7 separate regions of the Homo sapiens genome follow, and regions 1, 3, 4, 5, 6 and 7 are each linked to region 2. The links are contacts of gene promoters, found by promoter capture Hi-C in blood cells and fetal thymus (Javierre and others, 2016). All regions are on one chromosome and are shown on one strand. The core of a region is centred on a gene start or on the middle of the fragment in contact, and the rest is flanking DNA. Distances in the headings are between cores, read along the strand shown.

What was found. Contacts are between HindIII fragments. The CHiCAGO score rates a contact against its expected background, and 5 or more counts as called.
Region 1: a contact is called between a fragment that was not itself captured here and the fragment with the promoter of BRPF1 in region 2, in 1 of 17 cell types (neutrophils). The highest score is 8.6, in neutrophils.
Region 3: a contact is called between a fragment that was not itself captured here and the fragment with the promoter of BRPF1 in region 2, in 1 of 17 cell types (megakaryocytes). The highest score is 7.0, in megakaryocytes.
Region 4: a fragment that was not itself captured here is called in contact with the fragment with the promoter of BRPF1 in region 2 in 4 of 17 cell types (neutrophils, monocytes, naive B cells and 1 more); the score reaches 8.0 in neutrophils.
Region 5: a contact is called between a fragment that was not itself captured here and the fragment with the promoter of BRPF1 in region 2, in 1 of 17 cell types (megakaryocytes). The highest score is 5.0, in megakaryocytes.
Region 6: a contact is called between a fragment that was not itself captured here and the fragment with the promoter of BRPF1 in region 2, in 3 of 17 cell types (monocytes, naive CD4 T cells and M0 macrophages). The highest score is 7.2, in monocytes.
Region 7: a fragment that was not itself captured here is called in contact with the fragment with the promoter of BRPF1 in region 2 in 5 of 17 cell types (neutrophils, monocytes, M0 macrophages and 2 more); the score reaches 13.9 in neutrophils.

What each region holds. Positions count from the first base shown.
Region 1 is chr3:9,879,871-9,883,725 of GRCh38, reverse strand. CIDEC (cell death inducing DFFA like effector c) reads left to right here and starts at 3,473. Exons shown (of 7, transcript NM_001321142.2): 1 at 3,473-3,502. The HindIII fragment of the contact is 3,540 bases long and covers 1-3,315 here.
Region 2 is chr3:9,730,419-9,734,198 of GRCh38, reverse strand. BRPF1 (bromodomain and PHD finger containing 1) reads right to left here and starts at 2,464. Exons shown (of 14, transcript NM_001003694.2): 1 at 2,061-2,464; 2 at 1-68. The coding sequence starts at 58. RefSeq lists enhancers at 1,349-1,908, 2,469-3,028 and silencers at 1,986-2,115, 2,126-2,175, 2,646-3,005. The HindIII fragment of the contact is 5,381 bases long and covers 1-3,635 here.
Region 3 is chr3:9,489,000-9,493,092 of GRCh38, reverse strand. No RefSeq gene overlaps it. Among named protein-coding and RNA genes, the nearest start is that of LHFPL4, 63 kb to the left of the region's middle. The HindIII fragment of the contact is 8,839 bases long and covers 1-4,093 here.
Region 4 is chr3:9,903,077-9,905,916 of GRCh38, reverse strand. It overlaps IL17RE (interleukin 17 receptor E), which reads right to left. Exons shown (of 16, transcript NM_153480.2): 2 at 2,505-2,520; 3 at 1,766-1,885. Among named protein-coding and RNA genes, the nearest start is that of IL17RE, 1.6 kb to the right of the region's middle. RefSeq lists an enhancer at 2,196-2,840. The HindIII fragment of the contact is 3,209 bases long and covers 1-2,840 here.
Region 5 is chr3:9,524,668-9,528,992 of GRCh38, reverse strand. The region is part of intron 2 of LHFPL4 (LHFPL tetraspan subfamily member 4); the gene reads left to right. Among named protein-coding and RNA genes, the nearest start is that of LHFPL4, 27 kb to the left of the region's middle. The HindIII fragment of the contact is 1,280 bases long and covers 2,152-3,431 here.
Region 6 is chr3:9,949,919-9,953,954 of GRCh38, reverse strand. PRRT3 (proline rich transmembrane protein 3) reads left to right here and starts at 1,547. Exons shown (of 4, transcript NM_207351.5): 1 at 1,547-1,633; 2 at 3,783-4,036. The coding sequence starts at 3,840. All of the region lies in intron 3 of PRRT3-AS1 (PRRT3 antisense RNA 1), which reads right to left. RefSeq lists a silencer at 1,509-2,048. The HindIII fragment of the contact is 545 bases long and covers 2,062-2,606 here.
Region 7 is chr3:9,973,454-9,977,693 of GRCh38, reverse strand. It overlaps EMC3 (ER membrane protein complex subunit 3), which reads left to right. Exons shown (of 8, transcript NM_001394674.1): 2 at 248-305; 3 at 644-737; 4 at 3,206-3,310; 5 at 3,985-4,066. Among named protein-coding and RNA genes, the nearest start is that of EMC3, 11 kb to the left of the region's middle. RefSeq lists an enhancer at 66-1,265. The HindIII fragment of the contact is 7,414 bases long and covers 1-4,240 here.

The sequences.
Region 1 (3,855 bases), core at 296-2,795, 150 kb before region 2:
AAAGAAAGATGAGGTTAAATGTTTTTTTAAAAAACACAGCTTTATTGAGATAGAATTCACATCACCCACTCAAGTGTACAAGTCAATGATTTTTAGTATATTTACAGGGTTGTGCAAACATCACTGAAATAATTTGTAATTAATAGGTAAAAAAAAAAAAAAAAAAAAAGGAAACCTGGCCGGGCGTGGTAGTTCATGCCTGTAATCCCAGCACTTTGGGAGGCAGAGGCGGGCAGATCACTTGAGGTCAGGAGTTCGAGACCAGCCTGGCCAACGTGGTGAAACCCCCGTCTCTACTAAAAAATACAAAAAATAGCCGGGTGTGGTGGCAGGCGCCTGTAATCCCAGCTACTTGGGAGGCTGAGGCAGGAGAATCACTTGAACCCGGGAGGCAGAGGTCACTAAAAATACAAAAATTAGCTAGGTGTGGTGGCACACGCCTGTGGGAGGTAGAGGTTGCTGTAAGCTGAGATCGCGCCATTGCACTCCAGCCTGGGTGGTGACATAGCGAGACTCTGTCTCAAAAAAAAAAAAAAAAAAAAAAAAAAAAAAAAAAAGAAGAAGGCCGGGCGCGGTGGCTCACGCCTGTAATCCCAGCACTTTGGGAGGCTGAGGCAGGCAGATCACGAGGTCAGGAGATCAAGACCATCCTGGCTAACACGGTGAAACCCCGTCTCTACTAAAAATACAAAAAAATTAGCCAGGCGTGGTGGCAGGCACCTGTAGTCCCAGCTACTGGGGAGGCTGAGGCAGGAAAATGGCGTGAACCCGGGAGGCGGAGCTTGCAGTGAGGCGAGATCGTGCCACTGCACTCCAGCCTGAGTGACAGAGCAATGCTCTGTCTCAAAAAAAAAAAAAAGAAAGAAAAGAAAAAGAAAAGGCTGGGTGCGGTGGCTCCTGCCTGTAATCCTAGAACTTTGGGATGCCCAGCCGGGTGGGTCATGAGGTCAGGAGATCGAGACCATCCTGGCTAACACGGTGAAACCCCGTCTCTACTAAAAATACAAAAAATTAGCCGGGCGTGGTGGCGGGCGCCTGTAGTCCCAGCTGCTCTAGAGGCTGAGGCAGGAGAATGGCGGGAACCTGGGGGGCGGAGCTTGCAGTGAGCGGAGATGGTGCCACTGCACTCCAGCCTGGGCGACAGAGCGAGACTCCGTTTCAAAAAGAAAAGAAAAAAAAAAAAAAGAAAAGAAAACCCTGAAAGAAACCCTGTACTAATTAGCAGCCACTCCCCATTCCCCTCCCATCCCCTACTCCCAGCCCGAAGCAACCACTAACCCATTTTGTCTTTTTTTTTTTTTTTTTTTTTTTGGAGGCGGAGTCTCGCTCTGTCGCCCAAGGCTGGAGTGTAGTGGTGCGATCTCGGCTCACTGCAAGCTCCGCCTCCCGGGTTCACGCCATTCTCCTGCCTCAGCCTCCCGAGTAGCTGGGACTACAGGCGCCCGCCACCACGCCCGGCTAATTTTTTGTATTTTTAGTAGAGACCGGGTTTCACCGTGTTAGCCAGGATGGTCTCGATCTTCTGACCTCGTGATCCGCCCACCTCAGCCTCCCAAAGTGCTGAGATTACAGGCGTGAGCCACCGCGCCCGGCCCTACTTTGTCTTTATATAGATTTGCCTATTCTAGACATTTCATATAAGTGGAATCATACAATATGTATATGATTCCTGTGACTGGCTTTGTCTACTTTCTGTACTGTTTGCAAGGTTCCTCCATGTGGTAGTATGGATCCTTTTTGATAAATAATATGCCATGTATGGATAGGCACATTTAAAAAATCGATTTATAAATTGAACATTCATGTGTTTCTACCTTTTGGCTATTACGAATAATCCTATGGATATTCACATACAAGTTTTTGTGTAGACATATTTTTCATTTCTTTTGGATATGTATGTGTATATATATATGTGTGTGTGTATATATATACACATATATATGTAATTTTGTTTGGTTTTGGTTTTGTTTCTTTTCTTTTGTAAAGACAGGGTCTCCCTATGTTACTCAGGCTAAATTTTAATTCCTGGGCTCAAGTGATCCTCCTGCATCAGCCTCCTTCTGAGCAGCTGGGACAACAGGTGTGCTCTGTATGACACACATACACCACACGCACACACACAGAAGTGGAACTGCTGGGTCAGAGATCTTACACTCTTAACCACTCCACATTTCAGCTTGTCTTACTCTCTGCTATGATTTAATATGTACATTATCAAATTGAGAAAAAGACAAAAAAATTAAAAATAATAAAATAAAAATAAAAAATTATCAGTAATACTAATAATCACTTCGATCCATTGAGTGTTTATGTTTGCAAAGCCTTTATTTTTATTTATTTTTATTTTTTTGAGACAGAGTCTCACTCTGTCACCCAGGCTGGAGTGCAGTGGCGTGATCTCGGCTCACTGCAACCTCTGCCTCCCGGGTTCAAATGATTCTCCTGCCTCAGCCTCCTGAGTAGCTGGGATTTCAGGCACCCACCACCACGCACGGCTAATTTTTGTATATTTAGTAGAGATGGGGTTTTCGCCATATTGACCAAGCTGGTCTCGAACTCTTGACCTTGTGATCTGCCCACCTCGGCCTCCCAAAGTTCTGGGATTAGAGGTGTGAGCCACCGTGCCCGGACTTTTTTTTTTTTTTTTTTTTTTTTGAGACAGGGTCTCACTCTGTCACCCAGAATGGAGTGCAGTGGTGTGATCTAAGCTCACCGCAACCTCTGCCTCCCAGGCTCAAGCGATTCTCCTGCCTCAGCCTCCCAGATAGCTGGGATTACAGGCACACACCACCACGCCTGGCTCATTTTTCTATTTTTAGTAGAGACGGGGCTTCACCATGTTGGCCATGCTGGTCTCAAACTCCTGACCTCAAGTGATCCACCTGCCTCGGCCTCCCAAAGTGCTGGGATTACAGGCGTGAGCCACGGCACCCAGGCTACTTTTTTCTTTTTTCTTTTCTTTTCTTTTTTTTTTTTTTTTTCAGAGACAGGGTCTCACTCTATTGCCCAGGCTGTCCTCCAACCCCTGTCCTCAAGCAATCCTCCCGCCTCAGCCTCCCAAAACACTGGGATTATAGGCATGAGCCACTGTGCCCCTTTACTTTTATTGTCACTAATCCTCACCACTACCCTATAAAACAAGAATCATTATCGTCATTACACAGAGAAGAGAAACGGGCTCACAGAAGTCAAGTGATCTGTCTAAGCTCAAGCAAGCTGATATGGGGTGGAGTTGGGACCACAACCCACATCTGCCTGCTTTCTGTGCCCTCTGTGCTTGATCTCATGTCATGGGCCATCCATTTTGCCAAAGCTTTCGAAACATGCCTTCTCCCCTCCTTTTAGGCCTTTTCTGGAAGTCAGGCTGGCTTGCAGCTCTCACCCCAAGCTCTTTTCCCCAGCTGGGGCTGAAGGCTGGGGAGGAGCTTCATGGGGGCTGGAAATAAATGAAGGGAGGGCTGGGCGGGACAGGGCAGTATTTCCAGGAGGCTGTGAGGGGGAGGTAAGGAGTTTGTTATTGTTTTGGGTTTGGGGATTTTTTTTTCTTTGCTCCTGGAGAGCAGGTTAGGTAGCTCTTGGCAGAGTTTTGCTAGGGATACGAAGTGGGTGAGGCTGAGGCAAGCAGAATCCTCCTGCCTCAGCCTCCCACGTAGCTAGGACTAGAGCTTCTGCAGTGCTAAGTGGGAAAGGGGCTTTCTGCCTCTGTGGGGCCTGGTCTGGAAAGTCCCCCAAATTGTTAAAAGCAAAGAGTGATTGTCCCCAGCTGGCAAGGGGACTTTTGTTTTATGTCCACCCCTTGTGCCCCTTGCTCTGCGAAGCCCTACCTGTGCCGGGAGCTTCGAATAGGAAGAGGAC
Region 2 (3,780 bases), core at 1,215-3,714:
GTGGCTTAGTCGCCCGCAAGTTGTGGCAGAAAGTCTTCACATCAAAGTCCACCCCCATGCTGTCACATCTAGAATACACAGATCAGTTAACATAAGGCTGGGGATGAGTTCCTGGCCATTTGCACCAGAGACCCCAGTCTTTCTAGCCCTCCCCCTCACTTGGAGTCACCAGATTCTGGCCAGCCTACCTCTACAGTGTCTCCAAATGCCATCTCCTCCACCATAGCCCATATCTGGGCCCTCATCACCTCTTGCCTGGTTATCCTGCCCTATGTCTCAACTTCTTTAGCCCAATCTCACATCATGTAGGAGAATGATCTTTCTACCAGGTAGTAATGATCATGACACTCTCTTCATTAAAAGCCTCCTGATGCTCCCAGTTCCTTCAAGATAATATTCCAAATTCTCTATGATGCCATTCAAAGAGCTCCTTTCACTGACTGGCCCTAGTCCTCCTTTCTTTTTACAAGTTACAGCTGTTTTTGTCTACACAGGGGATCTTGCCATTCCCTGAATGTTATAACCTCTCATTCCTGCAAAATGATCCCTATTTGGAATGCCCTCCATACTTTCTGATTGGTGGGCTCCTACTCATTCTTCAAAAAACCAGCTCAAATGTCACTTCTGACACAACTTCTCTGACTCTCCCATGGGGAGCTGTTTCCACAGCATTCCATTCTCACCTCTACCACAGCACTTGACATACTGAAAGTTGTCTCCCCCCTGGACTGGGAGCTGTGTAGCAAGGGTACCAGAGCCTATCCACCTCTGTATCCCCAGTACCTAGCATGCACTGGACATTCAGTTTTTGGCGAACGAATGAATGACCTGTTGAACGAATAGCTGAATGAGGGGATCACCAGACTGAGAGCTCAGATGGGATGAAGGCCATGTAGAAAGCTGAATGGGTGGGTGGCTAATGCTTTAGCGTTGGACTCCTGCAGAAATCACTGGATCACAGAAAGAATTCATTTACTTTTGAGGTCTTTATGGGGAGCCTGGCCCTGGTACTGGGTAGGAGATGTACTGTGAAACAAAGTGAAAACTGAGGTCATTTAGTCAGTGACAGCAGCTTGTATTACATTTGAGCTGTTCACCCACTCACACATCAACTGAGTGACTACCAAGTGCCAGGCCCTAAGGGTACAAACACGAACGCGACAATCTAGGCATGCTCAGCTCCATGCTGGTCCGCAGGGGCCCTCCCTCCCCGCTCCCCAACATTCCTGGGTGAGTGTAGACAGCAGATGGCACCAGGCCTCAGGAAGCCCAGCTTGGTCAGAGACTGCCCCAATTTCTCTCGGCCTAGTTGAGTTCAACCATTCAGCTAGGGGCTTGGCACCATCCCAGCCAGGCAGGGCTATCATGAGCTCCCTGACAAAATAACCCCTCTTGGCCTCTCCACCTGTGCCTTAACCAGGCAAGTGGGCTGCTCCAGCTCCACTGTCAACGGCTCCTGATTTTCACATCAGTAACGCTACACGTCCAACTGCAACTCTTCTATTTCCTACCTGCGGCTGTGTCTTTAAACATAAACCAACCGAAGCACAAACAAGCTCTCCTCTTTCCAAGCTGGGTCCCGGGTGAATGGTTCCCAAAGTAGCACAGCGAATCAGCAATCTCCCCTTGGAACCCGGCAGCAGAGGCACAGGCGAGGGAGACGAGAACTTAGACCAGAAAGCCCGTGGGGAGGGCCCAAGGAGAATGGCGGCTGCATCTGCCCCTGAAGCTCAGGGGGCTGGAGGAAGTAAGGGGCGGGGGCCGGAGGGATAGGGCTGGGCCCCGGCAGTGCCCGCAGCCCACTCTCCGGATGCGGCGGCGTTTCCCCTTTGTGGAAGTGTAACAAGTGAAACAAGGCTCCCCGCCTGCCACTAGCCCGGGCAGCCCCGAAAGATACACTGTTGCCCCAGGATGCCTGCTGGGAAGCAATGCACTGTCAGTTCTCCCAACTGGAGTTGCCAGAGAGGTTCCCGGGCCACGCGGCTCAGTGCGCGTCCCACGAACGTAGCCTACCCCTTCCCTGCCGGCCACTCCCGCCCTGGTCCCAGGCCCGCACTCACCGGCCACCTCGAGTCCGGGCTCATCGCCGGGGGCGCCCGCCGGGGCTCCGACCCCACTTGGGGAGGTCGGCGGGGAAAGTCGGGCCGGGAAGGGGGAGCCCCAACTCCGGAGACCGTAGACCTCGCCACCCCGGCCCCCTGCCGCCCCACGCTTTGGTCCCGGCTCCCCGGGATTCCTGAGCTGACCCCTGCCGCTCCTGGTCCCGCCGGCGCCCTGGGGTCTCAACTCCGTCGGCCGCCGCCCGTTTCGCGAGCCCCCAAGATGCCCGGTCTCGGGACCGGGCGCTGCTGGAACAATGGAGGCTCCCAGAGGCAGCGCGAGGACAGCGGCGGCGGAGACCGTGGCGGCAAAGGCTGTGGCAGCGGCGGCGGCAGCAGCGGCGGCGACGGCGTCTGCGCAGGGTAAACGTGGCGCCGCGGCGCTACTGAGCTGCACTTTCGCCACGGATCCCCGCCCGCCCGCTGAGGCTCGAAAGACCGTGCTCCGGGATTCAGAAAGGACCCTGGACACCCCACAGGGCTTCTCTAGCTCTCCCATCTTAGAGTGGAGTTTCTGGAGACTGAAGTCACCGTACTCGGGATCTGGGGTCGTCGGGCGGTTTGTGGCGAATCTGCAACCACGGACGGTGAGCGCGGGGCTGGGCGTGAGGAGCCCGCCCTTCTCCCCTCCCCCTCTGCCTCCTCCCTATCCGCTCCCTGCCTCCTGCTGGCGCCGCGGCTGCGGGAGGGACCTGGCCTTGGTCTCGGAGGAAGGCGGTGAGGCGGGGCCAGAGTCACGGGGCGGGGCTGGGGGCAGGGCCGGGAGCAAGAGGGATGCGGGCTGGAGCCTAAGGGACCGGTAGTTATGGGTAGGACCGGGGCGGGGCTGGAGACTAGACCGGTCTGTGGGGCGGGGCTTGTGGGAGGGGGCGGGGCTACCGCACAGCGGGGGCCTGTTAGAATAGCGGGGTAAAAAGTGGGGCTAAACAGAAGAAGAGTACTCGCGAGAGAAAGGGCGGAGCTTTGGATGAGCCTGGAAAGTGGAGCTGGACTAGAAATAAAGAACAAAGTTGGAAAAAGCGATGCGACGCTGAAGGGAGCAGGCGGGGCTTGGTAAGGCAGGGGCGGAGCTGTGGGGAAAGGGCAGGACCGATTAGGGATAACGGGGCGTGACTGAAGGAAAGGGAAGAAACTTGGGAAAAGTAAAGGAGAGGTGCTAGAGAAAAGGTATGGGTCTGAGAGAAGGGGCTGGTTTGGGGCCGGTGGGTGTGAAAGGGCTTGTCTGGTAAAGCGGTGGGAAATCTGTGGGTTGGCAGGGATGTGCTGCGGGTTGCTGATTGGAACATGGTGCCAAAACAGCTGATTTAATGTGAGTGGGTCACCTCCTAGCAATGTGAACGTGGGCAAGTTCAGTTCTTTAAGTTCCTTATTTGTAAAACAGAGCTCGAAAACTCTGTTGTTAGTTCTTGAGGGTTTCAGAGAACTTGCATGGCAGGGGGAGACATCCTTAAACAATACTTCTCCAGTTTTGTCATCAAAGAGGAGCGTGAAAGGTCTTCCAGGGTTCTGGGACAAAGCCCAAAGCATCTGAAAGCTTCTATCTTCTTAATGCAAACTTTGCATTTGACCCAATAAAATGTATGTTTTCTAAAAACCATCCCAATAAAATCGACATGCCAGGAAGAGGTTTGCTGATTAAGATCTTGGGATCTGAAGTCAAACTGATGAATTATCTTAAATG
Region 3 (4,093 bases), core at 576-3,075, 240 kb after region 2:
GGAGGAGTTTTTAATCTGAGGGACAAGATGTATGTGTCTGGACAAACGTAGGGAGAACCTCTGTGCAACAAGGTATAAAAGATCCAGCAGCCTCCACTTCAATGGGCTACAAGGTAGGCAATGTCCTAAGGAAAGGCCACAATTCAGCAAGGGCCAAGAGATTAGATGGAGGGAAGTAGTGTTTTCTGCCAAGGAAAAGCGAAGATGTCCTGAATACACAGCAGAGAGCTTGGGAGAGAAAGACGGACAGGGAGAAGAGAACTGCTTTGTAGGAGTAGAGTGTCAGGAGGCCAGAGGACACAGAACACGCTCTTGTTGAAAGGGATGGGGGACAGAGGGTGAGGTTGGTGGAGTTTACCAGACGCACTTCCAAACAGAGCCCTAGTTTGAAACTCCCTTCCAGTCCACTTAGGCAGAGCTTAAGTGTGTGGGGTGCCCACACAGATCCATCCAGCGGCACTGGAAAGCTCCGTGAGGTGCCAAAACGGGTGTGGGAATGGGTTGGAGGCTTCTTCAAACTCATGTACTCACCCCACAAAACATTTATTGAATAACTTACCCTGGTCAGGTACTGCTAGGCTCTAGGCATATAGAAATAAATCAGACATGAGCTCAACAAATTACCTCCGGCCTCTTAGTAGCAGAGCTGTTCGCCAGTTTATAGTGGCCAGGTCAGATTCTGTTTGTTTTCTTAAACATAACACACAGAGAATAAAACAAATGTACAGCTTAATTATAACATACCCTTCTAACTGCTACCAAGGAGATGGGACTCTGCCAGCTACTCCAGAGCCCTTCATGTTTCCTATAAACTCCATCTCTTCCCTCCCTCCTAAGAATAACCGTTATCTTTTTACTGTAATCATTCCCCAACTTTTATTTTTTCACCCAAGTGAGCATCTTTAAACAATACAGCTTAACCTTAATTTTTTAGTTTTTTTTTTTTTGAGATGGAGCCTTGCTCTTTCTCCTAGGATGGAGTGCAGTGGCAGGATCTCAGCTCACTGCAACCTCCACCTCCCAGGTTCCAGTGATTCTCCCGCCTCAGCCTCCTAAGTAGCTGGGATTACAGGGATGCACTACCACACCCAGCTATTTTTTTTCTTTTAGTAGAGTCAGGTTTTTACCACGTTAGCCAGGCAGGTCTCTAACTCCTGACCTCAAGTGATCCACCCCCATCAGCCTCCCAAAGTGTTGGATTACAGACGTGAGCCACCGTGCCTGGCCAGATTTTTTTTTTTTTAGAGGTGAGGTCTTGCTATGTTGCCCAGGCAGGCTGGCCTCAGCCTCCCAAGAAGCTGGCACTACAGGTGCATGCCACTGTGCTGGGTTGCCACTTCTTTTTTCTTCATGTCTTTCCCCACTTAATCTCTTTTTCTCCTTTGCAATTTACTGCTGAAGAAACCAGACCATTTGTTACGTAGTGTTCTGCCACTGGAATTTTGCTGGCTTCATTCTTGTGGGATAGTTCAGTAAGTTCTTCTGTTCTCCTCTGTATTTTCAGCAAATTGATAATTGGATCTAGATACTTAACCAGATTCAGGAGTGTATGTTCTCACATTTTAATAACTTTTTTTTTTTTGGTCAAGAGACACTTAACATCGAGTTGTTTTTGTTTTTGTGTTGCTAGTTGCTGTTAATCTTCAATGCTTACATCTTTAATTCATTAGGAGCTGCAAAATAGTGATGTTCCAATTCTATCACTCTTTATTTACTTGTGGAAATACTTCTATAAAGAGAAACTTACCATCATTTGCTATGTAGTTACTCAGTGGTACAACTCAAACAGGAAAGGCAAGATAAATGCTGCGGCCTTTCAAAATATATAAATATATATATTTTTCAAAAATACAAAGTTAGTTCCTTAACATCCTTCAGAATGAACAATTTTATTTTGGTACCACTATGAACTCATGGATTTAAATATGTTCGATTTGATTATGTTGTAATGTATTATCATAATTAATGCTCAAATGTTCCATCTTTGGTCAGGAGAATTCTCTTTAAGTTGCAACACAATTCTCTTTAAAGCTAACCCTAATTATCTTTGATAGTATCCTTGATGACTGGTATGACAAGATGATCCAGGCTAATCTTAGACATTTCTTCTCCTAAACCTGGAATCAGCCATTTCTCTAAGAAGCCCTGTTTCTATGCCTTTCCAGTTGACAGGGCAAAGATACATACACGATAGATGATACATAGATAGACACATGGGATCTCTCTGTACCTATGGTAAAATGCCTCATGAGTTAATATTAATACTTAGGGTTTTGGCTAAACTTCTTTAACAGCTATACCTCCTTTCCCCCAACACTGGGAAATATTGGTTCTGAAGGACGCTGTATTTATTTATCACACGTTAAAGCACTCAGATAGACTACTGCCAGTATGATTATTTAACACATTCTCTCCTGCTTATTTATCTAAAGTTGTACTCTATCTATATTGTGCAGGTCACGTAAACCATTTTGTAGTATATACTCTCCTTATATCTCTCATTCAGTCTATTCTGCATGTAAGTATATATAAGTAATACTATCAGGCTTTTTGTTGTTTGAAGCTCAGTTTTTTTTTTTTTTTTTTTTTTTTTGTTGAGATGGAGTCTCGCTCTGTCGCCCAGGCTGGAGTGTAGTGGCCTGATCTCACCTCACGGCAACCTCCGTCTCCCAGGTTCAAGAAATTCTCTGCCTCAGCCTCCCGAGTAGCTGGAATTACAGGCACCTGCCTCCATGCTCAGTAATTTTTGTATGTTTGGTAGAGATAGGGTTTCACCATCTTGGCCAGGCTGGTCTTGAACTCCTGACCTCGTGATCCACCCACCTCGGCCTCCCAAAGTGCTGGGATTACAGGCGTGAGCCACCGTGCCCGGCCTTGAAGCTCAGTTTCCAATAGATCCCTAAGGAAGAATTCATGAAAATAAAATTCCCAAAGTTTTTGCATGATAATGATGACAATTTGTGGCTACTACCCTGGAAAGTAAGTTCAGTTCGTACAAAATTCTTGGCTTGTCTCTTTCCTTATCTTAAATTATCCCATTAGCTTTTGCCTTTTTTTTTGTTTTGAGACGCAATCTCACTCTGTCGCCCAGGCTGGAGTGCAGTAGCGTGATCTTGGCTCACTGCAAACTCCGCCCTACAAGTTCAAGCGATTCTCCTGCCTCAGCCTCCCGAGTAGCTGGAATTACAGGCGCCCGCCTCCACATTCACTTATTTTTGTATTTTTAGTAGAGACGGGGTTTCACCATCTTGGCCAGGCTGGTCTTCAACTCCTGACCTCGTGATCCACCCGCCTCATCCTCCCAAAGTGCTGGGATTACAGGTGTGAGCCACTGCACCTGGCCTCTTTTGCCATTTAAGTGTTGCTGTCAAAAAGTCTGATACAGCCTAATTTTCTTTGCCTTATAAGTAACAAATACACACACACACACACCCACACATGTCATGAACTGCATGCTTCCCTCCATGATGGACTGCATAGTGGTCCCATAAGATTATAATGCGGTATTTTTACTGTACCTCTTCCATGTTTTGATATGTTTAGAAACACAAATACTTATATTGTGTTACAATTGCCTACAGTATTCAGGACAGTAACATGCTGTACAGGTTTGAGCCTAGAAGCAATAGGCTATGCCGTATAGCCTAGGTGTGAGGTAGGCTACACCATCTAGATTTGTGTAAGTGCACTCCATGATATTCATATAGCAATGAAATCACCTAAAGATGTACTTTCTAGAATGTATTCCTATTGACATGATTGTGTGTGTGTAAATATGTGTGTGTATTTGCCTAAGATTTTTTTGTTTTTAAAATCTAACAATTTTACTGTAATATCTCATTATTTATCATTCTGGATTGAATTTACTAGGTATGCAATATGCTCTTTCACTTTGTAGTTTAAAATATTTCAGGAAACTTTCCTTAAATTATAGCTTTTATTTTTATTTTGAGACAGGGTCTTGCTCTGTCACCCAGGCTGCAGTGGTGCAAACTTGGCTCACTGCAACCTCCGCCTCCTGGGTTCAATAGATTCTCCCACTTCAGCCTCCCGAGTGTCTGGGACTACAGGTGCACACCACCATGCCTAGGTA
Region 4 (2,840 bases), core at 341-2,840, 170 kb before region 2:
ATTATAAAGCAATCAAGAAAAGATTAATTTCTTAAGCAGAGAAAAAGCTATATATACAAAGATATTCATTTTAGCATTCTTTAATTTTTATTTTTTGGAGACGGAGCCTTGCTCTGTCACGCAGGCTGGAGTGCAGCGGCGCGATCTTGGCTCACTGCAATCTCCGCCTCCTGGCTTCAAGCGATTCTCCTGCCTCAGCCCCCAGAGTAGCTGGGACTACAGACGCCTGCCACCACGCCCAGCTAATTTTTTGTACTTTTAGTAGAGACGGGGTTTCACCATGTTAGCCAGGATGGTCTCGATCTCCTGATCTCAAGATCTGCCCACCTCAGCCTCCCAAAGTGCTGGGATTACAGGCGTGAGCCACCACGCCAGTCCCTGCCTCTCTCTCTTTTCTTTCTTTCCTTCATTCCTTCCTTTGTTCCTTCCTTCCTTCGTTCCTTCCTTCCTTCCTTCCTTTCTTGACAGGATTTTGCTCTGTCATGGAGGCTGGAGTGCAGTGGCACAATCACTGCTCACTGCAGTCTTGAACTCTTGGGCTTAAGCAATCCTCTCACCTCAGCCTCCTGAGTAGCTGGGATTACAGGCATGCACCATCACACCTGGCTAATTTTTGTATTTTTAGTAGAGACGGGGTTTCACCATGTTGGCCAGGCTGGTCTCAAACTCCTGACCTCAGGTGATCTGCCCGCCTCAGCCTCCCAAAGTACTGGGATTACCGGCATAAGCCACTGTGCCCAGCCCTGTAGCATTATTTCTAACAACAAACAATTAGAAAAATTAAACACTGCCTATTCTTTTTTTTTTTTTTTTTTTTTTTTTGAGACAGGGTCTCACACTGTCATCCAGGCTGGAGTGCAGTGGCGCTATCTTAACTCACTGCAACCTCCACCTCCTGAATTCAGGTGATCCTCCCACCTCAGCTTCCCAAGTAGCTGGGACTTCAGGTGTGCACTACCACATCCAGCTAATTTTTGTATTTTTTTGTAGAGATGGGGTTTGGCCATGTTGGCCAGGCTGGTCTCAAACTCCAGGACTCAAGCGATCCACCCACCTTGGCCTCCCAGAGTGCTGGGATTACAGGTGTGAACCATCATACCTGGCCCAGAAACTGCCAATTCTTTTTTTGGAGATGGAGTTTTGCTCTTGTCGCCCAGGCTGGAGTGCAATGGCATGATGTCGGCTCACTGCAACCTCCACCTCCTGGGTTCAAGTGATTTTCCTGCCTCAGCCTCCTGAGCAGCTGGGATTACAGGTGCCTGCCACCAGGCCCTGCTAATTTTTTGTATTTTTAGTGGAGACAGGGGTTTCACAATGTTGTCCAGACTGGTCTCGAATTCCTGACCTCAGGTGATCAGGCTGCTTCAGCCTCCCAAAGTGTTGGGATTACAGGCGTGAGCCACCGCGCCTGGCCTAGAAACTGCCAATTCTTAAGCAATGTAAGGGCATTTAGTATGTACCAGGCACTGAGCTGAGCAATTAAAATATAGAGTAAGAAAGAAGATCCTGCTCTACAAATAGATGGTAATAACAATAAATCCATAGCTTTTAATTCCAAGAATCTCAGCTGAAAAAAAACCTTCATAAAATTGTACAATTGTATTTGTGAATATCAGTCATAGCGTGCTATTTTAGGATAATCCAAGTCCCAGTTGAGGTTAAAACAAGACAAATATCTGTTCTAGTAAGTCCCACTTGCTCAGCCTAGGTGGTCCCTCAAAATGTTCTCTTCACTGAGAATGGCCCAAGGGGCTGTTTCTCATACCTGAGCCACCTGACAGCAGATGCTGGCACAAACAGCGGGAACAGTGCCAGACTCGCACACACCAAGGCTTTGTGGAGAAGAGGGCCCACCAGGTGCGGCAAGGGATATAGGCAGAACTTCCTGGGAAAGATGGAAGGGAAAGCAAATGATAGGGTCTAAGAAGGTCCCTCCTACCTCCAACAAGCTGGATTTGAGGCCAAGCTCTGTCACATCCTGGAAGTATGACTTTGGGGGTTACAGGACCTGTCTAAGGATCAGATTCCTCATTCATAAAGCGGGTCTGTTATAAAAATCAAAATTGTAGTGTATGGGAAAATGTCTTGTGAAGTAGAACATACCATAAAATAGGAAGGATTATTGTTGTATTACTGATAGAAGTGAGGGATCAGTTAAGGGGAGGAGCCAACATATATGGAGAACCTGGAGATTTACTCATGTTTCTCATCTAATCCTCTCTACAGATCAGAAGCAACACTGCCTTTAGTGTACAATCATTTCTACTATGCTACTACCCCTCAGAAACTGAGGGTCAGTTGGAGGGGTTAGGTGCACAGTCTGAGGCCACACGGGAGTCTGGCAGAACTGCAATGTGAACCCAGGCTTGTCATGATTCCAAATTTTTCCTTGATATTGTGCTACTTCCCGGGTTGGGAACTGAAAATTAGAATGGAGGGCTTGCTAGGCATCTGCAAAAATAGTGGGCGTGGGGAGGAGCAATGGGGCAGGAAATGCGACTCACCAGTGAAACTGTCATCCTGAGGCACAGGGCCCAGTAGGGAAAAGAAAGGAAAGAGCTATTATTAGGAGAGACTCCCATAAGGCACATTCCTGGGGTCTTTGCTTCAAATCAGCAAATTCTGAGCCCCATAGCTAATAGCCCATACCTTCTGGCTCTTATCTTCCCAGCTCCACCCTGTCCAGGCCCTCAGCACAAAGGACCTTGGCTACCCCTTTGAGACTAGGTAGAGGACACATCAAAGCTGCCACCAGAGCACAGGGACTGCGGAGGTAGCACAGGGCAGGCAGGGGAGTGGGGAGCTTTATGGCTGTGCCAGGCAGGTGTCCCTACCTGGCA
Region 5 (4,325 bases), core at 1,542-4,041, 210 kb after region 2:
TGAGCCAAGATCGTGCTACTGCACTCCAGCCTGGGCCACACAGTGAGATTCCATCTCAAAAAAAAAAAAAAGTTGGGGGGCTGGGTGCAGTGGCTTATGCCTGTAATCCCAGCACTTTGGGAGGTCAAGGTGAGCAGATCACCTGAGGTCAGGAGTTCAAGACGAGCCTGGCTAACACGGTGAAACCCCATCTCTACTAAAAATACAAAAATTAGCCAGTGTGGTGGCACACGCCTGTAATCCCAGCTACTTGGGAGGTAGAGGCAGGAGAATTGCTTGAACCCGGGAGACAGAGGTTGCAGTGAGCTGAGATTGCGCCACTGCATTACAGCCTGGGCGACAGAGCAAGACTCCGTCTCAAAAAATAATAATAATAATAAATGGAACATTGGTGATTCATGAGAGAAGGTCAAAATGTCAACATGAACAGGAGTTTGAAAGAGGTTAATTCCAGCCCTCATGGATGACTTTGAGGAGCTGAATACTTCAGTGGAGGAAGTAACTGAAGGTGTGGCGAAAATAGAAAGAGAACTAGCATTAGAAGTGGAGCCTGAAGATGGGACTGAATTGCTGCAATCTCATGATCAGACTTGAATGGATGAGGAGTTGCTTCTTATGGATGAGCAGACAGTGGTTTCTTGAGATGGAATCTACTCCTGGTGAAGATGCTGTGAGCACTGTTGAAATGCCCACAAAAGATTTAAAATATTACATAAACTTAGTTGATAAAGCAGGAGTAGCATTTAAGAGGATTGATTCCAATGTTGAAAGAAGTTCTGTAGATAAAATGCTATCAAATAGCATCATATGCTACTGAGTAAACTTTTGTGAAAGAAAAGTCAATCGATGTGGCAAACTTCGTTGTTATCTTATTTTCAGAAATTGCTACAGCTACTCAAACCTTCATTGCAACTTGCTGAAGGCTGGCTCAGATGATAATTTAGCAATAAAGTATTTTAAAACTAAGGTATACACATTGGGTTTTTTTTAGACATATGCTATTGCACACTATTAGTATATAGTGTAAACATGACTTTATATGCATTGGGAAACCAAATAATTTGTGTGACTTGCTTTATTGCAATATTTGTTTTATTACGGTGGTCTGGAACCAAACTCGCAATATCCCCAGGGTATGCCTCTGTGTGTGTGTGTGTGTGTGTGTGTGTGTGTGTGTGTGTGTTTGTATTTGAAAAATTAATTTGTACAATTATTGGTTTTCTGGGTTTTTAAAAAAATTATTCCGCCACACTAGTCTACTGTATATGGGTTTTGTTTTTGTTTTTCAGACAACATCTGGCTCTGTTGCCCAGGCTGCAGTGCAGTGGCATGATCTTGGCTCACTGCAACCTCTGCCTTCTGACCTCAAGCAATCCTCCCACCTCAGCCTTCCAAATAGCTGAGACTACAGGCGCTTGTACCATGCCTGACTAATTTTTTGTAGAGATGGGGTTTCACCATGTTGCCCAGGCTGATTTTGACTCCTGGGCTCAAGCAATCGTCCCACCTCAGCACTCCCAAATAAGTGAGACTACAGGCATGCACCACGATGCCCACTAACTTTTTGTATTATTATTATTTTTTTTAGTAGTGTCAGAGTTTTGCCATGTTGCCCAGGCTAGTCTCAAACTCCTGAGCTCAAGTGGTCCACCTGCCTTGGCCTCCCAAAGTGTTGGGATTACAGGCATGAGCCACGATGCCTGGTCAAAATTATGTTTTTAAATTTCACAAGTAATATATGAATATACCCACTCTGTAAAAAGCTGAAATATTACAAAAAGACTAAAGTCCCCACCCAAGCCCCACCCAGAGGCCACCACTCTTATAAACTTCATTTCTATCTTCCCTGATCTTTTTCTGCACATTTACATATATATCCATAAGGAAACTATATCATGTCATCTTCTGTGTACCCCTGCTTACTTCTTTCTCCCTTCCCTTTCCTTTCCTTCCTTCTGTCTCCTTCCCTCCCTCCTTCTCTTCCTTCCTTCCTTTCAGTGAAATACATGTACATGAAATTTACCATTTTAACCTTTTTTTTTCTTTTTTTCTTAAAACAACAAAAATTTATTCTTGTTCTGGAGGCTAAGAAGTCCAATATCAAAGTGTGGGCAGGGCCTCATGCCCCCTGCAGACTCTGGGAGGGAAGCTTCCCTGATCTCATCTCCCTTCTTTTGGCTGTCAGCCTTCCTTTGTGTTCTTGACTTACAGCAGCATCACTCCAATCTCTGGTCTTCACGTGTGTGTGTGTTTCTCTTCTCTTCCTATAAGGACACCAGTGATTGGACTTAGAGCCCACCCTAATGACCTTATTTTGTCTTGTGTCTTAATTATATCTGCAGGTACCCTGTTTCCAAATGAGATCACATTCACAGGTACCAGGGATTAGGACTTGAACATATCTTTTTGAGGGAACGCAATTAAACTCATTACATTCACCATCATTTTAAGAGATGCTTGAAGGAGGGAGATGATATGAGGGATGTTAGACCACAGCCGACTACAATTGTGAGCAAAATAAAGACAGTTATTCAAACTATTGTCAGATTTGTACGGGGACATTCTTTTTTCCCGCATTTTCTTATTGTGGTAAAATACACATGACATAAAATTTATCATTTTTACTGTCTTTTGGTGCACAATTCTCTAGCATCAAGTACATTCACATTATTGCTCAGTCATTACCACCATCCATCTCCAGAACTCTTTTAATCTTGCAAAACTGAAACTTTGTGCCCATTAAACACTAACTCCGCATTCCTCCCTCCCCCGAGCCCTGGCAGCTACCATTTCACCTTCTGTCTCTGTGAATTTGATTACTCTAGGTAGCTCATATAAATGGAATCATACAGTGTTTGTCCTTTCATGACTGGCTTATTTATATACCTAGCAAAGTGTCTTCAGGATTCCTCCATGTTGTATCATGTGTCAGAATTTCTTTCCTTTTTAAGGTTCAATATATTTCATTGTATGTATATACCATCCCCTACTTTTTTTAAAACTAAAGGGATCATGCCTACGTATGGTCTTTCTACCTGCTCAATATGTCAGAAAAAGAGAGGTAGTTAAGAGCATGGACTCAGGCCCCAGGAAGGCTAGGTCAGACTCATCATTTAACCTTTCTGTGCCTGTTTCATAACATATAAAAATGAGGTAACAATGAATTAATACACATAAAACAGTTAAAACAGTGTCTGGCATGTTTCCCATTTTTTCCCATTTTTTCAAACGTATAAGCACGTTGGATTTTTTTTAAAATTATGATTGCTTTTTTTCAGATGACGTTGTGTCAAAGAAATCTTGCTCTTTCAGTCCTTAAAGTGCTACCCATTCTTTCTCATTGTTGCAATGCATTTCATAGTATGCATATCCTTTTTATAAAAAACACAGATGAGTGGACTTCTGGTTTCTGGTCAGGGATGTAAGAAGCTTGGAAGCTGCTACTCCATCCTAACAGCAAGTAAAAAGCCAAACAAACTGAAAAATAAACACTCTTGCTAGATCCATGAGAGACGTAAGGTCACAGGGCAAACTGCTGCCCCCAAAATTGGAGCGACAGACAGGTGAGTGCAGAGAATCACAACTTACAGGAGCAGAAGGAACCCATGAGCAGAAACCTTTATGGGAACCAATGCCCAGGCAAGGGAAAACTGAATTGTAATTGACAAATTGCTGGAGGCTGTGTGGACAAGTGTGAGACATTAAAAACTCCCAGGGGACCCAGTCATTAGGGGGGCTCCCACACTTTTGTAAGTTTTACTTCCTGAAGCTCTACCAAGTTCTTACGGTGAATATTGAAGAAAAATCCCCTCATGGTTCTGGCAAGAGCAGGGAAAAAGGAACAATTCTGATGTATGCCAGGCCTGTCCTTGGGAGAAACTAGGTGACTAGAGCCTAACCTGCTGGGATTATCAGAGAGAGGCTAACTGATCTTGGGGGAAGGAAACTCCATCTGCCTCTAGCCATGCTGTCCCACCTAAGGAGGGCAAGAAAAAAACAGCAACAACTTAGAAGCATTTGTGAAATTAACAGTCCAGGGCAAAGGCTCACTAAAAGACGGAGACCTCTTTGTAGGACTATAGAATGCTTCCCCTCTTCCCACATCTTACCACCACATCACTAAAAGCCTACTTACAGCAGTTTCTTTTACCCAGTACATTATTTCCAGCTATCAAGAAAAAAATTACAAGGGATACTAAAAGGCAAAAACACAGTTTGAAGAGACAGAGCAAATATGTGAACCCGGCTCAATTATGGCAGGCATGTTGGAATTATCAGACCAGGAATTTACACATATAACTATAATTAATATTGCAATGGCTCTG
Region 6 (4,036 bases), core at 1,085-3,584, 220 kb before region 2:
CTCCAGCCTTGGCCTCCCAAAGTGCTGGGAATATAGGCATGAGCCATTATACAGGCCAAATTTTCTTCTTCTTCTTCTTCTTCTTTTTTTTTTTTTTTTTTTTTTTTGTCAGTCTCGCTCTACTGCCCAGGCTGGAGTGCAGTGGTCATTGCACTCCAGTGACACAGCTTGTGGTCAATGGACAGAGTGGTCAATGCACTCCAGTGACACTCCAGTGGCCATAGCTTACTGCAATCTTGACCTCTTGGGCTCAAATGATTCTCTGGCCTCAGCCTCTGGAGTAGGTAGGACTACAGGCATGTACCACCACGCCCAGCTAGTTTTTTTGTTTTTTTGTTTGTTTTTTAATTTAAAAAAGTCTCACCATCTTGCCCATGCTGGTCTTGAACTCCTGGGCTCAAAATGATCCTCCTCTCTAGGCCTCCCAAAGTGCTGGGATTACAGGTGTGAGCTACTGCACCCAGCCCTATCTCATTTTTGATAACCACATATATTTCCTGTGTGGCTTTCCCTTAAGGAATTGAGCCTAATAATGGATGTTTAGTATATCAAGAGGTGTTCAAAGAAAGACCAAGAACATTTTGACAGTGTCTACCAGCCCCATATGCAGACCCATAGATTTTACTACCATGCCTCGGCTAGGCAATTATCTGGTAGGTGCACTAGTGTACGTGCACAGTGATGTGTTAAGCAAGGAATGGCCCCTGCTCCATTATCCCTGCGAGCAAAAGGCTAGAAACAACCTATGTCCAATTACAGGGGACAGGATAAAGAACAATAACTAGCTGACCATATGCTGGAATTCTCAACAGTGGATACAAGAAATGATATAGATCTATAGATATTTACATGAAAAATGTGCCAGAATATATTGGAAAGTGAAAAAGACAAATTACAGAAATGTGTACAGTGGCTGGGCACGGTGGCTGACGCCTGTAATCCCAACACTTTGGGGGTCCGAGGCGGGCTGATCACCTGAGGTCAGGAGTTCGAGACCACCCTGGCCAACATGGTGAAACCCTGTCTCCACTAAAAATATAAAAATTAGCCAGGCATGGTTACTAGGGAGGCTGAGGCAGGAGAACCACTTGAACCTGGGAGGCGGAGGTTGCAGTGAGCCGAGATCACGCCACTGCACTCCAGCCTGGGCGACAGAGCAAGACTGTCTCAAAAAAAAAAAAAAAAAGTATACAGTATGATGTCATTTCTATTTAAGATGTACATGTAACTGTACATTGAGAAGAATCTGAAGGATACATACCAAGCTGTAGGTAGGATTTACCTAAAAGGATGTAGGGATATAGAAAGGAAGTGAGCTCCCCGTCCCATGAGGTATGCAAGCAGAGGCTAGCTGCCCCGTTTTCAGGGATGCTGCAGAAGACATTTCCACATCCCTCAGAGATGACCTCGGTTCCACTCTGAGCCCTGACAATCCCTGAGCGAGGGGAAGTCAGGGTTGACAGAAGAGTCCACCCCTAAGGGGAAAGAGTTAAGCAGGGCTGCGCTCCTGTGGGCGGGCTCGCGATCGGCAGCGCCGGGCTCTGTTAGCCGAGTCTGAGCATCTCGGAGGATGCGGCGCGGCGATCGGCTGCAGGGACGCGCGCAAGGTGAACACGGGGGCTGCGGCGCGCAGGTGAGGAGCTGGCCCAGGGAGGGGGCGATGGCGGGACCCCGACGGGGAGCGTGGCCTGCTGCCCCCGTCGCGGGCGCAGGCGACCAGGCCTGCACGGCGCCCACCCCCATCCAGGACACTGCGGGAAGGCGCGGAGCCAGGGAGAGAGGAGACGGAGGAGGAGGAGGAGGAGGAGGAGAGGTAACCCGAGATGGACCAGCTCCGAGGCTGCCCCGCAACGGCCTCGCCCTGCCCCCAGGCCGGCCTCTCCCCAGTCCCTGCGGCAGAGAGATCCGCCACCCCCCACAGCCTCTCCAGCAGAGTGGGAGCCCAGGGCTGGGCAAGCCCCCGCCTTGTCCGCAGGTGCCCACATCTCTTGGGTTGGCAGTGGTAGGCAGATGGCATGTTTATCTTTGGAGGCCCCATTCAGCCGTTTTCTCGGCAAAGCTTTTTGGACCTCCTGTGGAAGATGAGCCTCCGAGGGTTTCACAACCCCGATTGTGTCCACTCAGCTGTGTGACCTTGGGGGAGTTGCTCACCCTCTCTGAACCCCCGTTTCTTCCCCCTGTGAAATGGCTGTTCCCACACCTTGTATTGGGAGGGCGGAGTGACGTGTTGCTAAGCTCAGCGCAGGAGCCTCACTGGGAAAGAACTAAACACAGGAGCACTGTTTTTAGCCAGTACCTGTGTTAGGGGCGTCTCAGCGCACCCCTACTCCCAACCCTGGAGCAAAGCCCTGTCTCTGGGCCCCCAGCACCTAGCCTAGACCAGGAGCAGCCCATGGGGCTCCGTGAATGTTTGAGAAATGAACTAACAAGGCTTTAAGACAGAGTCTAAACTCGAGTTTGGAGGATGGGACTCAAAGGTCTTTGAACCCCTTGAAATTGTTCACAACTTTCGGTGAGCCTGGGTCTTTTCCCCGGGAGAGCACCAGGGGTTTTCAGTGGCTTCTTAAGGTGTCTGTGAGCCACCATGGGTTAACAGCCAGGAAGCTTTGGGGACAGCTGCTCCCCAGAGAGGAAAAGAGCAGGGCCTCTGCCGCCAAACACACCCAGGCTTCAGCTCTCGCACCCTCCATGAAACCTCTCCTGGTGGTGGGGCCCCTTCCTGCCTCCCTGGCCCACTGACAGGCTCTCGAGAACAGGAACTTTTAGGGGATATCCACGTGGGGCCAGGTATATACTGGAGGCTGCAGGTTTGAAATAAGAGGCAGGAGATTATTATAGAATCAGACCAGAGTGACAAGTGCCCAGGAAGATGAGGGAAGGAAGGCGGGAAGAGGAATGTGTAACGCTTGTCAAGCATCAGGTATGAACCTCGCCCATACCTGTTTGGTTATTTGTCTCATGCCTTGAGTTAGGCATGCTTATTATCCCCATTTTACTGATGGGAAAACTATGATGCAGAGAGGTGAAATGACTCCCCCAGGAAATGAAGACACTGGGATTCAAACTCAGGCCCCTCGCCAAAGGCCGGTGCATATTCCTCTCCCTCTCCACGTCTCTCATTTTTGAAGTGGGCCTTTAGGAATAACATTTCAGGCAGGGTGCAGTGGCTCATGCCTGTAATCCCAGCACTTTAGGAGGCCAAGATGGGCAGATTACCTGAGGTCAGGAGTTCAAGACTAGCCTTGCCAACATGGCAAAACCCCATCTCTATTAAAAATATAAAAATTAGCCAGGTGTGGTGGCACATGTCTGTAACCCCAGCTACTCGGGAGGCTGAGGCAGGAGAATCACTTGAACCTGGGAGGTGGAGGTTGCAGTGAGCCGAGATCACGCCACTGCACTCCAGCCTGAGCGACAGAGCAAGACTCCGTCTCAAAAAGAACAGGATTTCAGTAAGTGAAGGGGAAGGGAGAGAGCATTCCCTGCTGACAGAACAGCAGAAGCAAAAGGCATGGGAGCCACACAGTCCAGTGGGTGTTGGAGGACAGATGAACAGCTTGTGGTGGCCAGGGTCTTGGAAGGCCAGGAGAGGAGCTTATGTTCTTTCTTGAGGGAAATGGGGAGCCACTGAAGGTTTTAAAGCAGGGCAAGTGCCACGTCCAGCAATTTTAAAAGCAGAGAAGCTGCTGCCTTGCGTTGCTTTTCTTTCCTGTCAGCCCCTTGAGGAAGGCATGGGGGCCCCCAGCCCTCACATGTCATTCCATGCCCTGTTTTTTTTTTAGGCTCATCCAGTGAGGACTGGAAGGTGGGGGCTTTAGGCCCAGGCATCGGAGTAGACCATGGCCTCCAGCCCATGGGGCTGTGTATGTGGCCTTCTGCTGTTGCTGCTGCCACTCCTGGGGACTGGCCCTGCCCTGGGGAGGGGCTTTCCCAGGCCACTTGAAAACTCCGAAATCCCTATGATCCCTGGAGCCCACCCCAAGGGCTCTGTGGGCTCAGAGCCCCAGGCCTTTGACGTGTTCCCGGAGAACCCCAG
Region 7 (4,240 bases), core at 1,098-3,597, 240 kb before region 2:
CTAACTCTGAAATATTTATGTGTTCAGAAACACAGTCACTTTTGAAAAATACTTTTCTGAAAACCTAGTAGTTAGGTTAAATAAGTTTACGTTGGTTTTAAAGATACTTGTATTTTGGGAAGTTTCCACACAGAGCTGTTGCCAAATAGGCCCTCTCTTGTGTTTAAATAGGTCTTCTACTTGACTCTCCCATTTTCTTCTAGTGTTTCACTTTTTAAAATCTCATTGTGTTGGTTGTATTTTTCAGTCAAGTCCTAATTCGAAGCAGAGTCCTCAGGGAAAATGGAAAATACATTCCCAAACAGGTACTCATTTATCTTTTATTAAAAAGCTCCACGATTCACTGTTGGGCAGTAGATATCTGAATGTTTTATAAGGGGGCTCTGGGGAAAGCTAAAGGTTGGCAACTTAGTAATTAAGCTGTGGCCTGGTGGTGTTTGCTCTCATGGTGACCTCACCCTTCTTAGGAAATTGTTTTTAAATGTGACTCAGCTAAAGTGTCAGGTCGCCTGCCAAGTAGGCTGACAGCTCTGAGCGGAACAGCATATCCTAAAGGCCTTCTGACTAAGCCACTGGGGAGTAATTTAACAGTTTGCTGTGTCATAGTTCTTAGACTTAAAACACTTTTTTTTTTTTTTACTAGTCTTTCTTGACACGAAAATATTATTTCAACAACCCAGAGGATGGATTTTTCAAAAAAACTAAACGGAAGGTAGTGCCACCTTCTCCTATGACTGGTATGTTTGTTCCCTTCACTCATCTTTAAGGAAGATTTTTAACATGGGTATTTGAGTGGGGTGGGGTAGGCAGGGAGGGTGTCATTTTATTTAAATGTTAAATTGCAAAAGATAGTAATCTTAGACCTTAGAAATCATCTGATACAGGGATCTATGGAAGTGGAATTCTCTTTTTCAGTTAGATTTTCTGAGAACCCCAATGTATAAAGTGGATTAAAAAAAATAGTTCTCAGCTGATGGAGTGGGGAGGCCAGAGCTATTGTCCCTGGGTCTCTCCTTATTGCTGTTCTCAGGACCCAGGATTCTAGGGAGCACAGTTGGTAAAGCATTCCAGCCTGGCTGTCACCCAGTGCCTGGATCCCCTTCCAATAGATGGCTGCCCAGCTTCTGCCTAAATGAGGAAGAGTGCAGTACTTCCAAGATGTGCCATTTTGTTGACTTTGTTGTTAGACGTGATTGTTTGGTCTACCCTACAGTTTTGGCTCTAACATTTTCTACTTCCACTGATACCAGTCATGTGAAAAATATAGCATGTTAAAAGTAAAACAGGCCAGGTGTGGTGGCTCACGCCTATAATCCTTGCATTTTGGGAGGCTGAGTCAGGTGGATTGATTGCCTGAGGTCAGGAGTTCAAACCAGCCTGGTTTACATGATGAAACCCCGTCTCTACTAAAAATACAAAAATTAGCCTAGCGTGGTGGTGGGTGCCTGTAGTCCCAGCTACCCCGGAGGCTGAGGCAGGAAATTGCTTGAACCTGGGAGGTGGAGGTTGCAGTGAGCTGAGGTCACGTCACTGCACTCCAGCCTGGGCGACAGAGCAAGACTCCATCTCCGAAAAATAAAAATAAAAATAACTAAAAGTAAAACAAAGTAATTTGTTGTTCTGTGTTGACTCCTCTCATTTTAGTACTATTCACTTCTTTAGGTGAGATAACCAGCTATTTTAAACCCATACGGAAGGTATTATAATTAATTTTTTTTGAGAGTGACTAAGGTTGTATGGAGTTAATTTTTTAACAAATTTTTAAGAAAATTTACAAGAAACAAAAGACCATTAAATATATGAAAAGTTACTTGACCTCACTAATAATCCATGGAATATCAATTAAAACAAGATATCTTTTTTTTTTTTTTTTTTTTTCTTCAGAAAGGAGTCTCGCTCTCTCACCCAGGCTGGAGTGCAGTGGTGCGATCTCGGCTCACTGCAGGCTCCGCCTCCCGGGTTCACGCGATTCTCCTGCCTCAGCCTCCAGAGTAGCTGAGATTACAGGCACCTGCCACCATGCCCGGCTAATTTTTTGTATTTTTAATAGAGACGGGGTTTCATTGTGTTAGCCAGGATGGTCTCCATCTCCTGACCTCGTGATCCGCCCGCCTTGGCCTCCCAAAGTGCTGGGATTACAGGTGTGAGCCACCGTGCCTGGCCAAGATATCTCTTTTTTTTTTTTTTAGCCCAGTAAGCTGTCAAAAGATTGAAAAGATTGTCAGGATCCACTATTGTCAAGGTCGAGGAAGTTAGGCTCCCTCACCATTGGCGGGAGTGGCAAGAGGTGGGGCCTTGCTGACAGTCTGACAATATCTATCAATTTTAAATGTACAAATCCTTGGACCTAGAAATTCTAAGAAATTCTCTTACGGAAACACATAAACATGCAGATGTATGTGCAAGATAATTGTCGGCAGCATCATTTATCGTTTATTGGCAAAAACAATGGAAACAATCGATAGGTCTACTCAAAAGTGATTGGTGTGACCACACCATGGAATCCTATGCAGACATTAAAAATATTGAGACTGGGTACGGTGGCTGACGCCTGTAATCCCAGCACTTTGGGAGACCGAGGCAGGCAGATCACTTGAGGTCAGTCACGAGTTCAAGACCAGCCTGGCCGACATGGTGAAACCCCGTCTCTACTGAAAATACAAAAATTAGCTGGGCATTGTAGTGTGTGCCTGTAATCCCAGCTACTTAGGAGGCTGAGGCAAGAGAATCACTTGAACCTGGGAGGCGGAGGTTGCAGTGAGCTGAGATCATGCCACTGCACTCCAGCCTGGGCGATAGAGTGAGACTCCATCTCAAAAAAAAAAAAAAAAAAAAACGCTGGGTGCGGTGGCTCCCGCCTGTAATCCCAGCACTTTGGGAGGCCGAAGCAGGCGGATCACGAGTTCAGGAGATCAAGACCATCCTGGCTGACACGGTGAAACCCCGTCTCTACTAAAAATACAAAAAATTAGCCAGGCGTGGTGGCAGGCACCTGTAGTCCCATCTACTCGGGAGGCTGAGGCAGGAGAATGGTGTGAACCTGGGAGGCGGAGCTTGCAGTGAGCTGAGATCGCACCACTGCACTCCAGCCTGGGCGACAGAGCGGGACTCCGTCTCAAAAAAAAACAGTTTACAGAAAATCAGGAGAAAGTCCCTGGCAACAGAGGTAAAACTTAGTGGTTTCTTGTTTGTGCTTTTGTCTTAGATCCTACTATGTTGACAGACATGATGAAAGGGAATGTAACAAATGTCCTCCCTATGATTCTTATTGGTGGATGGATCAACATGACATTCTCAGGCTTTGTCACAAGTAAGTTACAGACCCAGCCGACTTCATGTTACCCAGAGAAATTCAAGTGCTAGTGAGACACTAATATCACAGGTCCTGTGTTTTCTTTTGTAAACTGATAATAGTCCTTGAACAAAAAATTTAATATGTGATGACTTTTACGGCTTTTGCCCAAAAATGATCCTAAGTTCATGACGTGGATGCTTTTTAGCCAGATTAGATTCAAGCAAGTGACTTGCTAGCTTACTTCCAAAACTAATACGGTATTCTCGTTGAGCAGGATAAAGGGAAGCGTATTTCTATTTTGACTTCATTTGCTAGATGTTAGGGTGAGTTTTCTGTTTGTTTGTAAGTTGATTCGCTTTTAATCAATTTGGTTTCTTATTAACATAATTCTATGCTTATATATTCCACTTAGAGTTTGACAGTTTGCTGCAAGTTTTTTCCAAATTTCAGGTCACAGCTCAGTTTGAGTCCCTGCTTCCTCAGTAAGCTAGAGGCAGATATTATTCAGGGAAACTAGAGCAGAGTGGCATTTTGACTGTCTTTTCTTCAGAAATTGCCACAGATTTCCTTGTGGAAGTCGTTTTCCAAAAGCTATGTGGCACAGAGTTCCCACCTCCTCTGAGAAAGAGTCACACTTATTCTAAAAATAAAACAGCTCAGAGTGATTGTGAACTTTTTCTTCTCTGCAGCCAAGGTCCCATTTCCACTGACCCTCCGTTTTAAGCCTATGTTACAGCAAGGAATCGAGCTACTCACATTAGATGCATCCTGGTAAGAACTTTCTTTTGTTTAATAAAAACACAAACCACACTTTGGGAAGCCAAGGCGGGAGGATCACTTGAGCCCATGAGTTTGAGACCAGCCTGGGCAACAGAGTAAGACCCTGTCTCAAGAAAACGAAAACAGGCCGGGCGCAGTGGCTCACGACTGTAATCCCAGCACTTT